5 separate regions of the Homo sapiens genome follow, and regions 1, 2, 3 and 4 are each linked to region 5. Evidence: promoter capture Hi-C in 16 types of primary human blood cells and fetal thymus (Javierre and others, 2016). All regions are on one chromosome and are shown on one strand. Each heading gives the region's core, a stretch centred on a gene start or on the middle of the fragment in contact. The rest is flanking DNA. Distances are from core to core; before and after follow the strand shown.

The links. Contacts are between HindIII fragments. The CHiCAGO score rates a contact against its expected background, and 5 or more counts as called.
Region 1: the fragment with the promoter of PCDHA5 here is called in contact with the fragment with the promoter of PCDHGA7 in region 5 in 6 of 17 cell types (M1 macrophages, M0 macrophages, M2 macrophages and 3 more); the score reaches 10.8 in M1 macrophages.
Region 2: a contact is called between a fragment that was not itself captured here and the fragment with the promoter of PCDHGA7 in region 5, in 3 of 17 cell types (M1 macrophages, M0 macrophages and M2 macrophages). The highest score is 9.5, in M1 macrophages.
Region 3: a fragment that was not itself captured here is called in contact with the fragment with the promoter of PCDHGA7 in region 5 in 4 of 17 cell types (M1 macrophages, M0 macrophages, erythroblasts and 1 more); the score reaches 13.7 in M1 macrophages.
Region 4: the fragment with the promoter of PCDHA9 here is called in contact with the fragment with the promoter of PCDHGA7 in region 5 in 7 of 17 cell types (M1 macrophages, fetal thymus, M0 macrophages and 4 more); the score reaches 11.0 in M1 macrophages.

What each region holds. Positions count from the first base shown.
Region 1 is chr5:140,820,267-140,822,966 of GRCh38, reverse strand. PCDHA5 (protocadherin alpha 5) reads right to left here and starts at 1,354. Exons shown (of 4, transcript NM_018908.3): 1 at 1-1,354. The coding sequence starts at 1,191. All of the region lies in intron 1 of PCDHA1 (protocadherin alpha 1), which reads right to left. All of the region lies in intron 1 of PCDHA2 (protocadherin alpha 2), which reads right to left. The region is part of intron 1 of PCDHA3 (protocadherin alpha 3); the gene reads right to left. It also overlaps PCDHA4 and PCDHA@. The HindIII fragment of the contact is 13,774 bases long and covers 1-2,700 here.
Region 2 is chr5:140,739,349-140,742,048 of GRCh38, reverse strand. The region is part of intron 3 of LOC105378198 (a long non-coding RNA gene); the gene reads right to left. Among named protein-coding and RNA genes, the nearest start is that of ZMAT2, 40 kb to the right of the region's middle. The HindIII fragment of the contact is 1,719 bases long and covers 481-2,199 here.
Region 3 is chr5:140,768,865-140,771,564 of GRCh38, reverse strand. No RefSeq gene overlaps it. Among named protein-coding and RNA genes, the nearest start is that of PCDHA1, 16 kb to the left of the region's middle. The HindIII fragment of the contact is 3,232 bases long and covers 1-2,700 here.
Region 4 is chr5:140,847,030-140,849,729 of GRCh38, reverse strand. PCDHA9 (protocadherin alpha 9) reads right to left here and starts at 1,348. Exons shown (of 4, transcript NM_031857.2): 1 at 1-1,348. The coding sequence starts at 1,234. The region is part of intron 1 of PCDHA1 (protocadherin alpha 1); the gene reads right to left. The region is part of intron 1 of PCDHA2 (protocadherin alpha 2); the gene reads right to left. The region is part of intron 1 of PCDHA3 (protocadherin alpha 3); the gene reads right to left. It also overlaps PCDHA4, PCDHA5, PCDHA6, PCDHA7, PCDHA8 and PCDHA@. The HindIII fragment of the contact is 21,410 bases long and covers 1-2,066 here.
Region 5 is chr5:141,381,451-141,384,150 of GRCh38, reverse strand. PCDHGA7 (protocadherin gamma subfamily A, 7) reads right to left here and starts at 1,409. Exons shown (of 4, transcript NM_018920.4): 1 at 1-1,409. The coding sequence starts at 1,251. All of the region lies in intron 1 of PCDHGA1 (protocadherin gamma subfamily A, 1), which reads right to left. All of the region lies in intron 1 of PCDHGA2 (protocadherin gamma subfamily A, 2), which reads right to left. The region is part of intron 1 of PCDHGA3 (protocadherin gamma subfamily A, 3); the gene reads right to left. It also overlaps PCDHGB1, PCDHGA4, PCDHGB2, PCDHGA5, PCDHGB3 and PCDHGA6, and 1 more gene. The HindIII fragment of the contact is 6,225 bases long and covers 1-2,700 here.

The DNA.
Region 1 (2,700 bases), core at 105-2,604, 560 kb after region 5:
CACCAGCTTGAAGGGAACGTGGGGCATTAGGGAGCAGGTCACCTGCCCGTTGGCACCTGAGTCACGGTCAGACACGCTGATCAGAGCAATGACCGTGCTGAGTGGAGCGTCCTCTTTGACAGGCAGGAAAAGGGTGGTTATGGCCATCTCTGGGGTATTATCATTCACATCCAGGAGTTTCACTACTACTTTACAGTGTCCTGATAATGGGAATGTACTTTTATCCATGGCATCAATATTAATTTCATATGAGTTATAGTCTTCATAATCCAGTTCCCCGTTAACTTTTATTTCACCAGTATTAGAATTAATTATAAATTTGGACTTTACATCGTCAAGAACAAGATTACTAAAGAAATACACTATTTCCTTATTGATGCCCTCATCTGCATCTGAGGCGTTCAGTTTAATAACTAATGTCCCACTTGGTGCATTTTCCAACAATCTGACATTATAAATGGATTTATCAAATTCTGGGGCGTTATCATTAGCATCCAATACATTGATCAACAACTGAACTGTACCTGTTAGTTCGGGTTTTCCTCCATCAGTTGCAATCACTAATAAACGGTGTTCTTGTGTTTCTTCTCTATCTAAGGATTTCCTCAAAACCAGCTCTAAAAAGTTCGTTTCTTCTTCATTTGTTTTAACATCTAAGTCAAAATATTCGTTTGGATTTAACCTGTATCTCAATTGTGCATTTGCTCCAATATCCAAATCCGACGCGCCCTCTAGCGGAAACCGCGAATCTGGCATTCTTGACTCTAAAATGAATAATCTTTGTTCTTGTCTGGAGAACCTGGGCGGATTGTCATTGATGTCCTTCACTGCCACCTCCACATGGAAAACCTGCAGCGGCCTGTCCACGATCACCTCCAGGTGGATGCTGCACTCCGCCCTCCGCCGGCACAGCTCCTCCCGGTCGATCCGAGAATTCACAAACAAAATGCCATTCTGCAGATTTACCTCCAGAAGGTCCCCGCGGCCCTTGGACGCCACCCGGAACAGGCGCGGCACCAGCTCCGCCAGCTCCAGCCCTAGGTCCTGCGCGATGCGGCCAACGAAGGTTCCGTGTTTGGCTTCCTCCGGGATCGAGTAGTGGAGCTGGCCGCTCCCTGCCTTCCAGTAGGCAAGGAGAAGCCAGAGCAGCAGGAGCCGGGATCCCAGACTTCCTCTCCGGGAATATACCATCTCAATCTCGTTCCAATTATGAGCTTTCTATTGCATCACCACACAATGTATTTTGTAAATTCAATTCCCAATTAACTATATATTTTTTATATTATCGCCTTTCTGAGCTTCTTGGCACAGCCAAAAATGGAAGGTTCTTTTCCTTTCTGTCTAAGGAAAATCTACTCACTGTATTCCTTTGAGGCTGGGAAGGGAGAAAAACCTTCCGGTGTCCAGCGACATCATGTGGATGAAAGGGTAAGTGTTTTATTTTGTTTTGCTTTATTTAGCTTATATTCGTCAATATTTCTCAAGTATTCTCACTTTCAATGACATGATTCTTATTCTTTAAATCACTTATCTCTAGTCAAAATATATCATTAAACTCTATCTTAAAATGCGTCAATATAAGTGCGTCATTAAAATATTACAGAAAAATACATCTAAAGTCATGAAACCCCAATCCTTACTAGAGAAATTTGTGCTGGTGTATTTTATATAGGGAGGAGTTTATATATTTCCAAACTGATAAAAATAACTTTTAAGAGTTAAAGTTTTGACTTTTCTCATCTCTATTTAAACATATCTAATTAAAACTTTTGAGTTTTTTCTGTATTAGTCAATGGAATGTTTGTATGCTATCTCCGTGTTACTCATAAAACAAATTTTTATTCCAATTTCACTGTTTAATAGTGACATTTTGTTGATGTTATTTTCAAAAACAACTAAAACTATTTTAATGGCATTCTTACCTGAGTTTCTTCTCGGAGTTCTAATTTTCAAATCGATGAAAACCTATTTCTTTATCTATAACACCTATCTACTTTTTGTATTGACTCAAAAACTGTAATGGGGATATTTCAGCTTTCTAGAAATCAAAAGCATAATAGAACGACTTTGGTAAATCGTCTTTGCACTATTTTCAAATTAGAAGCATCTAGATAGCATTTCTTCAAGTTGCTATTACTGATAAAGCAATTATTAAAAATTGTAAAATACATACCTTTGTACTTACATAACAAGTCAAAATCCTAATATTGTCTATATGACATACTATTTCACAAAATGTTTAGGTTCCAGTAAATATAATCATGTTGAAAAGAATATCATTTTATTAACCAGGCTATCTTTATATTAGTTTAATTACTTTTTAATCTCCCAACTGTTTACTGGATGGTATGATTTGAACACGACCTAGAAAATTTAGTAAACTTCACTTAATAAATATGGGCAAAAGAAAATATCACCAAGTTTTCTATTGAAGAAATAGCTAACATTCTGCTTGTATATATACTCCATAAAATTCCTTAAATATTACAAAATATCCCTTACCTGTGAAGACAAGAGGGACCAAGAGATTAGCAATTCTATTGTTGGATACTTTTACATTTAAAATATAGCTTGATAAGAAAAAAGAAATTACCAGAAAATGCAAAGTCAGAGGAAATTCACTTGATTTCTGGAATTCAAACTTGTAAAGAAACAAGATATTGTCATAGAATTGTTTCTGATACAATCTTTAAAGATATA
Region 2 (2,700 bases), core at 91-2,590, 640 kb after region 5:
CCTTTTGTATTGGTGCTGTCCTGTGGGAGAGCTGGAAATTCTGCTTATTTCCTTTTGTGTCTATGTAAGTAATAAACTGTCTGAATCAAACAAGGACTGCTGTTTCTTTACTAATCAAAGCTGCTAGGATTTGCCTGAGAATGGGTTCTTATTTTTCCTTGAAGTTCTGTTTCAAAATAGTTTCTTTTTCAAACCTTGTCAACTTGTCTTGGCAACCAGGGATTTGGTTCATATCTGGGAGAGATGACAGTAGTGAGAAGCTGCTCAGAGGAACTGTGGGGATCTGGAAATTTGGTGAAGAGCAGATTTACTCATGGAGTAGGTCTCAAAAGACTCTTACCAAGGCTAACCTCCAGAGTTTCTGTCCCAACCTTAAACCTCTTCAGCTCCTGACCCAGCCTAGTCTTCTCAGGAATCCATGCCGTTTTAGACCCCTCCTTGAAAAAGGGCTCTCTCCCATCTCCAAGAAAATGATAAGCTTGGTGGGGACATACATAGAGGACTAAAGAGGGTCCATGGACATCAAACCTGCCCCCAAAACACAGACAGGAAGAAGCATGCAAATATATCACTGAGATAATGCAGAAAGTAGATTGAATTTGGAGTTCCTTGACAGATAAGTGTCATGAGTTGGTATACCCTGGGCAGTAGGGTCAGCCTAGGCCTGAATGGTTCAAGAACGATGCTGAGTTTTAAGTTTCCTTCTACCCACCACAACTTCCAGACCAGGACACACAAACTTGGGAAGCCCCCATTTGAGGATGCACACCACTGAGAGAAACCCATGTCTTCCTTTCCCTAAAAACTGTTCCCCCAGCTGTGTCTAGGCTCACTCTCCCTCCTCCCACTCAGTGGCTACCTGCCACAAGTCTTGGACCAGCCTCAGTGCTTCCCAGATGACCAAACCGGGGTCATTTTAGCTCAAATCAACTTTCACAGCCAGTACATGAGTCAGACCCATGAAATCCTCCCAAACTGCCAAATGCCAGCCTTGGGTCTTTAAAGCTACCAGAGCTTCATTGTTACCTGGTTACTAGGTAATAACCCACAACAATTACTCCTCTCTGGATCTGGGCCTAAACATTCTGGTATCTTATAGCTCTTTTGTATTAATACTTTCTCTGATTACCTGAAATGATATACCACATAGAAAACTGTACTAAGAGTTATTGAAGAATGTGCAAAAAATTAACAAGAGGTCCAAGGAAAACTAAGCACATGAAGAAAAGTCAAGCATTAACTTCAGGAAAAGTAGAAAGAAGAAAAGGAGACAATCATGGTATATGACCATGTTCTGCTGGGAATTATATTTTGCAAAGGCATAAAAATGTTAACATGAATATTCATCTAACAAAGAATTGTTAGGGCCAGGCACAGTGGCTCACACCTATAATCCCAACACTTTGGGAGGCCGAGGTAGGAGGATGGCTTGAGCCCAGGAGTTCGAGATCATCCCATGCAACACAGTGAGACCTCATCGCGACTAAAAATAAAAAATTAGCTGGGCGTGTGGTATGTGCCTGTGGTCCCAGATTCTTGAGAGGTTGAGGCAGGAGGATCGCTTGAGCCCAGGAGGTGGAAGCTGCAGTGAGCCATGATCGCACCACTGCATTCCAGCCTGGGTGAGAGAGCAAGAGCCTGTCTCAATAAAAGAAAAAGAAAGAAAAGAAAAATTAAGTCATTTCAATCATATACAAACTATCCTAATTAATAAGAAGGAACACTTCCTAAATGATTTTCTAATGCTAAAATAACCTGATAGTGAATCCTATTGTAAAAAATACACACAAAAAAGGAAAAGCCCAGTCTAATGTCATTAATGTAAATAAATGAAAAAAAACCCATACTAATTATTAGAAAATTAAATCCAGTAGTACATAAAAAAGAATAATACAGCATAAGTAGAATTTCTCCAAGATATGAGGTTGACTTAACATTATAAAAGTAATTAGTATATATGCAAAGTTAATGAACTAAAGGGAAAATCATGATTATCTATGTACATGCAGAAAAATTACTTAATAAAATTCAACAACCTTTCATGATTTTAAAATAATCTTAATTAATCTTAAGATTTTTAGCAGATATTAGTTGTATCCTTAGGCATATAAGAGAATATTTGTAACTTGGTAAGGGTGTCCAGGGGAAAAAAAAAAAGCTAAAGCAAACATCATACTTAATGGTGAAATGATTAAAGCTTTCCCTTTGAAATCCAGAACAAGACAGGGATGTCTGCTATCATCACTTTAATCATCCTGTCGTCATTGTTCCAAAGGGCCTAACCAGTGTATACAACAAGAGAAAAATATAAAGGTCTGAGGTGTTCATATGGCATTCTCCATGGTTAGAAAAAGAAGGGGAAAAGTATAAGGAGGTTATTCCGTAGGATTTTGGGGAACAGGTGGTATTTGGTTACGTGAGTAAGTTCTTTAGTGGTGATTTGTGAGATATTGGTGTACCCGTCACCAGAGCAGTATACATTGAACTCAATTTGTAGTCTTTTATCCCTCACCCACTTCCCACCCTACACCCCTGAGTCCCCAAAGTGCACTGTATCATTCTTATGCCTTTGCAGCCTCATAGCTTAGCTCCCACTTATGAGTGAGAAGATACACCTTCTTATATGAAACTTTTTTATTTAGAGTTAAAACTCTGTATGTTTAGAGTTAATACGAGTATAAAACTCTCCTTATTTAGAGT
Region 3 (2,700 bases), core at 5-2,504, 610 kb after region 5:
TAGAACCTGGATATGAAAAGACATTTTACCAAAGAAAATATCCAAGAAGGCAAAGAAACACATGAACATATTTTCAATGCCAGTAGCTATTAGGGAGGAGCAATAAAACTACAATTGGGTATTATTAGATACCTATCAGAATGACTCAGATAAAATGTTGAAAACACCAAATGTTAGAAAAAAATTCAGAGAAACTAGATTACTCATACATTCTGGTGATAATGCAAACTGCTATAGCCACTCTGATAAAGAGTAAGGCAGTTTCTTTAAAAACAAAACAAAGCAACCAACTACCCATGGACCTCTCATATAGAACAATAATTGCATTCTTTGGCATTTATTTAATAGAAGTAAAAACTTGTGTTCACACAAAAACCTTTACACAAATGGTAATACAAATTTCATTCATAATATTCCTGAACTTAAAACATCCCAGATGTCCTTCAACAGATGAATAATAAACAGGGGAACATCTATGTAATGGAATTCTATTCCATTATATTAATACATTCAATAACCTGGATGAATTTCCAGAGAATTATGCTGAGTGAAAATGACTAATCACAAAATGTTTTATACTGTATGATTTTATTTATATATCATTCTGGAAATAACAACATTTTAAAAGTGGAAAACAGATTAGTCGTTGCAAGGGTTAAGAAAGAGGTGGGCCAGGGGTGAAAGGTAGTATGGGCATAAAAGGGCAATATAAGGAATCTCTGTAGTAATGGAAATGTTCTGGATCTTAACTGCATCAATATCAATATTTTGGATGTAATATTGATAGTCTTGGAAGATGTTACCATTGTGGAAAAGTGGGTAAAGAGTACAGAGGATTATTATTTCTTATAATTGCATGTGAGCCTACAATTATCTTAAATAATAAGTGTGTTCATCTGATTTGCTTTGCTATAAAGGACTACCTGAGGTCAGTACTATATAAAGAAAATAGGTTTATTTGGCCAATGGTTTGGCAGACTGTACAAGAAGCATGGTGGCAACATCTATTTCTGATAGCCTCTTATTCCTGAGGCCTCAGGAGCTTTTATTCATAATAGAAGGTGAAGGAGGAGGCCAGGCATGGTGGCTCATGCCTGTAACCCCAGCACTTTGGGAGGCCAAGGCGGGCAGGTCATGAGGTCAGGAGTTCGAGACCAGCCTGGCCAACATAGTGAAACCCCATCTCTACTTAAAAAAATACAAAGATTAGCCCGGTGTGGTAGCACGCGCCTGTAGTCCCCACTACTCTGGAGGCTGAGGCAGGAGAATTGCTTGAACGAGGGAAGTGGAGGTTGCAATGAGCTGACATCGCTCCACTGCACTCCAGCCTGGGCGACAGAGTGAGACTCTGTCTCAAAAAAAAAAAAAAAAGGGAGAGAGAAGGTGAAAGGGGAGCAGGCATATCACATGGCAAGAGAGGTGCCAGGCTCCTGTAAATAAGTAGCTATCATGTGAACTAATAAAGTGAGAATTCATTTATTACCACAGGGAGGGCACCAAGCCATTCATGAGGGATCCACCTCCATGACCAAAATACCTCCCACTAGGCTCACCTCCAAAATTGGAGATCACATTTTAACATCAGATTTGGAGGATACAAATATCCAAACCATATCAACAAGTTTAATTATAAAATCAGAAGCGAAGACAGCAAAATCATGAACAAGGAGGCTCCGAACTTTTGTCCCCCAACAGAAACATCAACAAAACAAAAAACAGTCAAAGGTCTACAACAACCAAGTAAACGCCCAATCAAGAAAAAAAAATCTATGAACATATTTAGACTGTAAGAAAAAAAAAATCTAGCCAGGAGCTGTGGCCCATGCCTGTAATCCCAGCAATTTGGGAGGCCAAGGTAGGAGGTTTGCTTGGGCCAGGAGTTTGAGACTAGCCTGGGTAGTCAGACTCCATCTCTACCAAAAAATAAAAATGAAAACAGCCTGGAAAACAGAGAAAGACCCTGTCTCAGAAAGAAACATTTGGTGATGATTTTACTCTTCCTTGCCTGACCTTCTTCCTGGCACAATATCAAACATGGTCTTGAATTGGTGACAGCACAGTTCCCAGTTCCTTCCCTAGAACCAAAGGGTGAAGAGCAGACTTCATTTACAATTTTTTTTGTTTGTCTCTTCTAATCTGTCTAGGGAAACAACTGAAGGACTGAAGCAAAGTGTTTGATTGTTTGAAGGTTAAAGAATTTGCAGGTGGCTATAATTTTAATGTTTGTCCCCTCCAGGCTTCATGTTGAAATTTGATCCCCATTGTGGCAATGTTAGGAGGTAGGACCTAGTGGGAAGCATTTGGTTCATGAAGGTGGATACCTCATGAATAGATTAATACCTTCCCTGCTGGGTTAGTGAGTTTATGCTCTAAATAGTTCCTACGAGAGCTGGTAGTTAAAAAGAACCTGGCATGCACACATAAACATCTGCCTCCTCTCTTATCATTTGATCTCTTTGCACACTGCCTAACCTTCCACATTCCACCATGATATGTGGCAGCCTGAGACCCTCAGATGGAAATATGCAATCTTGAACTTTCCAGTCACCAGAACCATGAGACTAATCATTTCTTTATAAACTATGTGGTCCCACTAGACTGTTACAGCATTACTAAACAGACTAAGACACAGGCACTGCTCCTAAAAGCTACAAGGTGACTACAAACCCACAGACATCTGGAGGAAGATATTATGCTTGG
Region 4 (2,700 bases), core at 99-2,598, 530 kb after region 5:
CTCTGTCCAGCACCAACGAGTAGTAATTCTTGTAGGTGGACACCAGCTTGAAGGGGACGTGGGGCGTCAGGGAGCAGGTAACCTGCCCGTTGGCATCTGCGTCTAGGTCGATCACACTAATCAGGGCAATAACTGTCCCCAGTTGTGCGTCCTCTTTTACAGGAACCGAGAGCGTTTTGATAGTCAACTGTGGAGCATTGTCATTTACATCCACAACTTCCACAAGAAGTGTACAATGACCAGCCAGGGGTGGGAAGCCTTTATCGACAGCCTCGACTGGGATCTTGTGTGCTCTACTTTCTTCAAAATCCATATGTCCTATCACTGTGATTGCCCCACTTAAGGGGTCCATGTGGAACTTGGATTTTATATCTGGAGAAACATCACTGGAGAAGGAGTAAATAATATCCCCATTCAAGCCTTCGTCTAAATCTGAGGCATTGGGGTGAATCACCAGCGTTCCGATAGAAACGTTTTCTGGTAATTTCACCGTATACAGGGTTCTGTCGAACACTGGGGCATTGTCATTGTTGTCCAGTACCGTGATGAGTAATTGAACGGTGCCAGTCAGCTCGGGTTTGCCTCCATCGGTGGCCGTGAGCAATAAATGAAGCTCCGGAGTTTCTTCTCTGTCTAAAAGTTTCCGTAATACAAGTCCAAGAGGTTTTACCTGCTGGTTGCTGGTTGGCACGTCCAGGAAGAAATACTCATTGGGGCTCAGTCTGTAAGTGAGCAGGGCGTTCTCCCCGATATCTGCATCGGACGCGCCCTCTAGTGGAAACCGAGAGTCAAGCGGCCTGGATTCCGCGATGAACAGATTCTTTTGTGTCGCTGGGAACACTGGAGGGTTGTCGTTAATGTCCTTCACCTCCACGTCCACATGGAAAACCTGCAGCGGCCTGTCTACGATCACCTCCAGGTGGATGCTGCACTCCGCGCTCCGCCCGCACAGCTCCTCGCGGTCGATCCGAGAATTCACAAACAAAATGCCATTCTGCAGATTTACCTCCAGAAGGTCCCCGCGGCCTTTGGAATCCAACTGGAACAGGCGCGGCACCAGCTCCGCCAGCTCCAGCCCCAGGTCCTGCGCGATGCGGCCCACGAAGGTGCCGTGTTCGGCTTCCTCCGGGACGGAGTAGTGGAGCTGGCCGCTCCCCACCACCCACATTGCGAGGATCAGAAGCGAGAGCAGTAGAGGCTGACCCTCTGGATCTCCTCGACTTGAGTATAACATTTCAAATACTCAGTCTTCTTCTAATTAGTGAAAATTGCCTCCAAATTAGAAGAAATCATCTGATTTCGTCAGTCCCATTCTGCTGTGTTCGCCATCGTTCAGCACAGAGAGAGTGAAAAAGAATTGAGCCTCTTTCCCATGGGAAAAGGGCTGTATTTGTCTGGATTCAGAGAGAACATCGCGGCAAAGAGTGACATCACGTGGCCCAAAGTGTAAGTACATATTTCATGAATAAAAATTTCACAGTTATTCTGCAAAACTTATTTCATTTTCTTAATTTTTTCTTAAGTAATGATTGTTGAAACAGAAGATCCCGTTTCTCTTGCTGGAGCCTTCTTAGCAGACTGACTGCCTCTAAAAGTTTTGTATGACCTTGATTGTGGTTTTCTTATCCCTGAGAAAACTCTCCACTTAAGTTTTAAATAACGACAGAAATGAAGTAACAATTAAAATGATTCCATTGAGCAATCACGAATTTTAAATTACAAAATTCTTTTGTTCTGGAATTCAGAATCTCCCATATGGCTCGAAATAGGATTCTAGTGTAAGAGAAATCCAGGAGTTGCAATCTCTAGTGAATATAGGAGCCCAGAAATCTACTGATGAAAAAGAAACTTAGTCATGTCTGGTAAAAGGAATCAACAAAAAGTAGCAACCAACTGAGGTAGTTTTCTTGAGTAATTCTATGAATTGAAAAGGTATAAAATATTGCAAGAAAAGCGAGAATTGACTTTAAGGTCTTGTGTTGCGTGGGGAGAAAATATATTTTTCTCTTTTGTAGCATTTATACAATCTGTTTCCAGAAATGTGTTGTTTTGATTCTTTCCAAGCTTTATAATCTATGAATAATCTCTTCTTTGTAGTCTCCAATATAGTTTGTGTAATGTTATTACAATATGTTTTAATTTCATTATTGCTCATCCTTAGTACTCGGGGCAATTTCTGTTTTTAAAGCTATGCTTGAGATTCTTTTCCTGACTAAGTTCTACAAAGTTTTGTTGTGAGTTTTACTATCTTATTCCAACGTCCAAGTCGATTAATTAAATCTAGATTTTAGTGTATCTCAAGTCTAAAGGCAAAACCGTGAGTGTTTATTGTGCCATTAATGTTTTTGCATATTTATCTTTTATTTCGTATTTCTACTGATAACAGCCTAAGAGGTGCATTTAACAATTGCTTCTGTCCTTGATTACTGCAGGAGCTTCTGAGTTTGTCTTCCCGTTCAACCTTCTTTCAAAAGTCGTGATTTATTTTGCTCAAGGTAGTTAAATAGCTCCCAATTAATTCTAAAGAGTGGCCAAATTCCTTAATCACTCATGGCCCTTTAGTTTATTACTCAGAAATCAAGAGATCTTCTTACATTGGTTTTCCTGCTTTCATTCTCTGCAGACTGTGTGTTTTAACCAAAGTGGACTTTTCTACTTGTCATATTGATGCTTTCTGTGTCTTCAACTTTCCTTATGTTT
Region 5 (2,700 bases), core at 160-2,659:
CAAAGAGAGTGTTTCCCGGTCCAAGTTTTTGGTTGTGACCAATCTATAATAATTATCTATTGATTTTTCTAATTTAAAAGGTAGGTTTTCTGGAATGGTGCAGGTCACCTCACCATTCTTTCCAGAATCTCTGTCTTGTAGGTAGAAAAGAGCAATGACTGTCCCAAGAGGTGTGTCTTCAGGGATTGAGCTACTTAAAGACGTCATAGTCACTTCTGGAGCATTATCATTTACATCTAAAACTGTGATCAGTACTTTTGCCTTTGTCAGACTACCAGGACCATCTTGAGCCTGAACCTCCATTTCATAGAAGGCAGTTTCTTCATAATCTAATCCTTCTAAAGTTGATATTTCTCCTGTAAGCGAGTTCAGATGAAACATCTTTGGAAGTTTAGGAGTTATTTTCCGAAAAGAATATGTCACTTCCCCATTGACTCCCTCGTCCAGGTCGATAGCATGTACCGTGAGCAGTCTTGTACCCACTGGCACATTCTCGGGGACAGTTACTTGGTACTGAGGCAGAGAGAAGACAGGCGTGTGGTCATTCACATCCACCACTGTCACCTGGATGTGGGCGGTGCTGGATCGGGGCGGGTCGCCGCCATCAGAGGCTGTGAGGACCAGGTGGTGAACCCGCTCTTCCTCCCGGTCCAGCACCCGCTCCAGCACCAGTTCCGGGTACTTAGTTTCATCGTCTCCACTTTGCACAGCCAGGGAGAAGTGGCGATTGGGGCTGAGCTGGTAACTCTGGAGGGAGTTCGTGCCCACATCTGGATCCCCAGCCTCGCTTAACGGAAACCGAACCCCAGGAGCTGTATTCTCCATTATTTTTACATTTATTTCTTCCGTCAAGAATCTTGGAACGTTGTCATTAATATCTATTATTTCCACGTCTATAGGGTAAAGATTCATTTTATCTTCCATCAGGATGTTAAAGTTTACCAGACACCGCGCACTCTGAGCGCAGATCTCTTCCCGGTCTATCCTGCCCGCAGTGACCAAGCTGCCGCTGCGCTGGTTCAGGGCGAAAAGCTGCGTCCTACCTCTGGAGATGATGCGGACTCCGCGCTCCGCCAGCTCCCGGGGCTCCAGCCCCAGGTCCTTGGCGATGTCTCCCACAAAGGACCCTTTGTCCGTCTCCTCCGACACGGAGTAGAGAATACGTCCTGCCCAGGCTTCCCAGGGGGTCCCCAGGAGGATGGAGAGCAGGAAGAATCCTCTGTAGTCCCCGCCCCTCGGCTGAGCCGCCATAGTCGTCCTGCTTCTCTTGCTTAGGCGCCGATCTCGGGAAGTGCTTCAGAATGCGGGTGTATCCGGGTGGACCCCTCTGTCTTAGGAAGGGGAGCTCAGAATCCAGCAGGATAGAGGCTTGAGTTTAGTGCAGCCTGGAAGAGGGCTTATCGCAATCTGTCGTTTCTCTGTGCTGTAAAACTCGGTGGTTTCTGTGGGATCTCTCGCACCATTTTTCCCTGGTTGGTGAACAGCGGCGCTGTGAGTCCTTACTAAGTTACTGCACCACATTGATGCACACAATACACTGATTTCATAGAAAATTGTTTCATCTTTCAAAATTTCCCTGTTAGATTTCTTTGCTCTAGATATCCCTGATAATTAAAAATCCATTTTAAGACACTGAATTAATGCAACAGTGTTCATGGACCGGTGTTTGATAATCTTAGATAATTTTTAAAAAACTGCTTTGCCTTGCAACTTTCAAGTGACTCTTTTGGGCACTGACTCACACGTTATTGCACATGGGAAAATCAGTTATTGAAGGCAAAAAGGTAAATTTTATTTAAATACATATGAAAGATTTTACTTAGAAAATATTTACATCAGTGTATATAAATTTTAATTAATTCAGTATTAATTGAACACATATGTTCTAGACACCATGATGCAAGATTCAGAAAGTCAAAATTGTTGTAAAATATATAGACCTATTTTAATAAATTTTTGATTGTATAGAACCTTAGAGACGGTCTAACACCTTCATTTTAACCGTTTAAAAAATGAGAGGGGGGGCCAGGTGCTGTTGCTCACGCCTGTAATCCCACACTTTGTGAGGCCGAGGCGGGCGGATCACCTGAGGTCGGGAGCTTGAGACCAGCCTGACCAACATGGAGAAACCCCGTCTCTACTAAAAATACAAAATTATCCGGGCGTGGTGGCGCGCGCCTGTAATCCCAGCTACTCAGGAGGCTGAGGCAGGAAAATCGCTTGAACCCGGGAGGTGGAGGTTGTGGTGAGCCGAGATCACACCATTGCACTCCAGCCTGGACAACAAGAGCAAAACTCTGCCAAAAAAAAAAAAAAAAAAAAAAGAAGAAGAAAGAAAGAAAGAAAGAAAGAGGGAATTGCCTTGCCTTGTTCCTGATTATTGATTATATAGTAGTAGAACAATGTCGGAATCCAAATATTCTCACTCCCAGTCTTGTGAGAAAAAAAGAAAGAAATCGTTGTTTGTCTTGGCTGCAGCAATCAGCTATAGAAGCAACCCATTTTCTACAGAAGGCAGAAATCTGCAGAGATCCTACTGGGCTGTGAATTCATAAGAAACTGGATAATGGATTGGCTGATTCTTTTCATTATGCAATTCAATTCAAGTCTTCATCCTAGTATGCAATTCAAATCTTCATCCTACTCTATTCTAGTGTAATTGAGAAAACAGGGATCTCTAGACAGCATTTGAGCAAAATG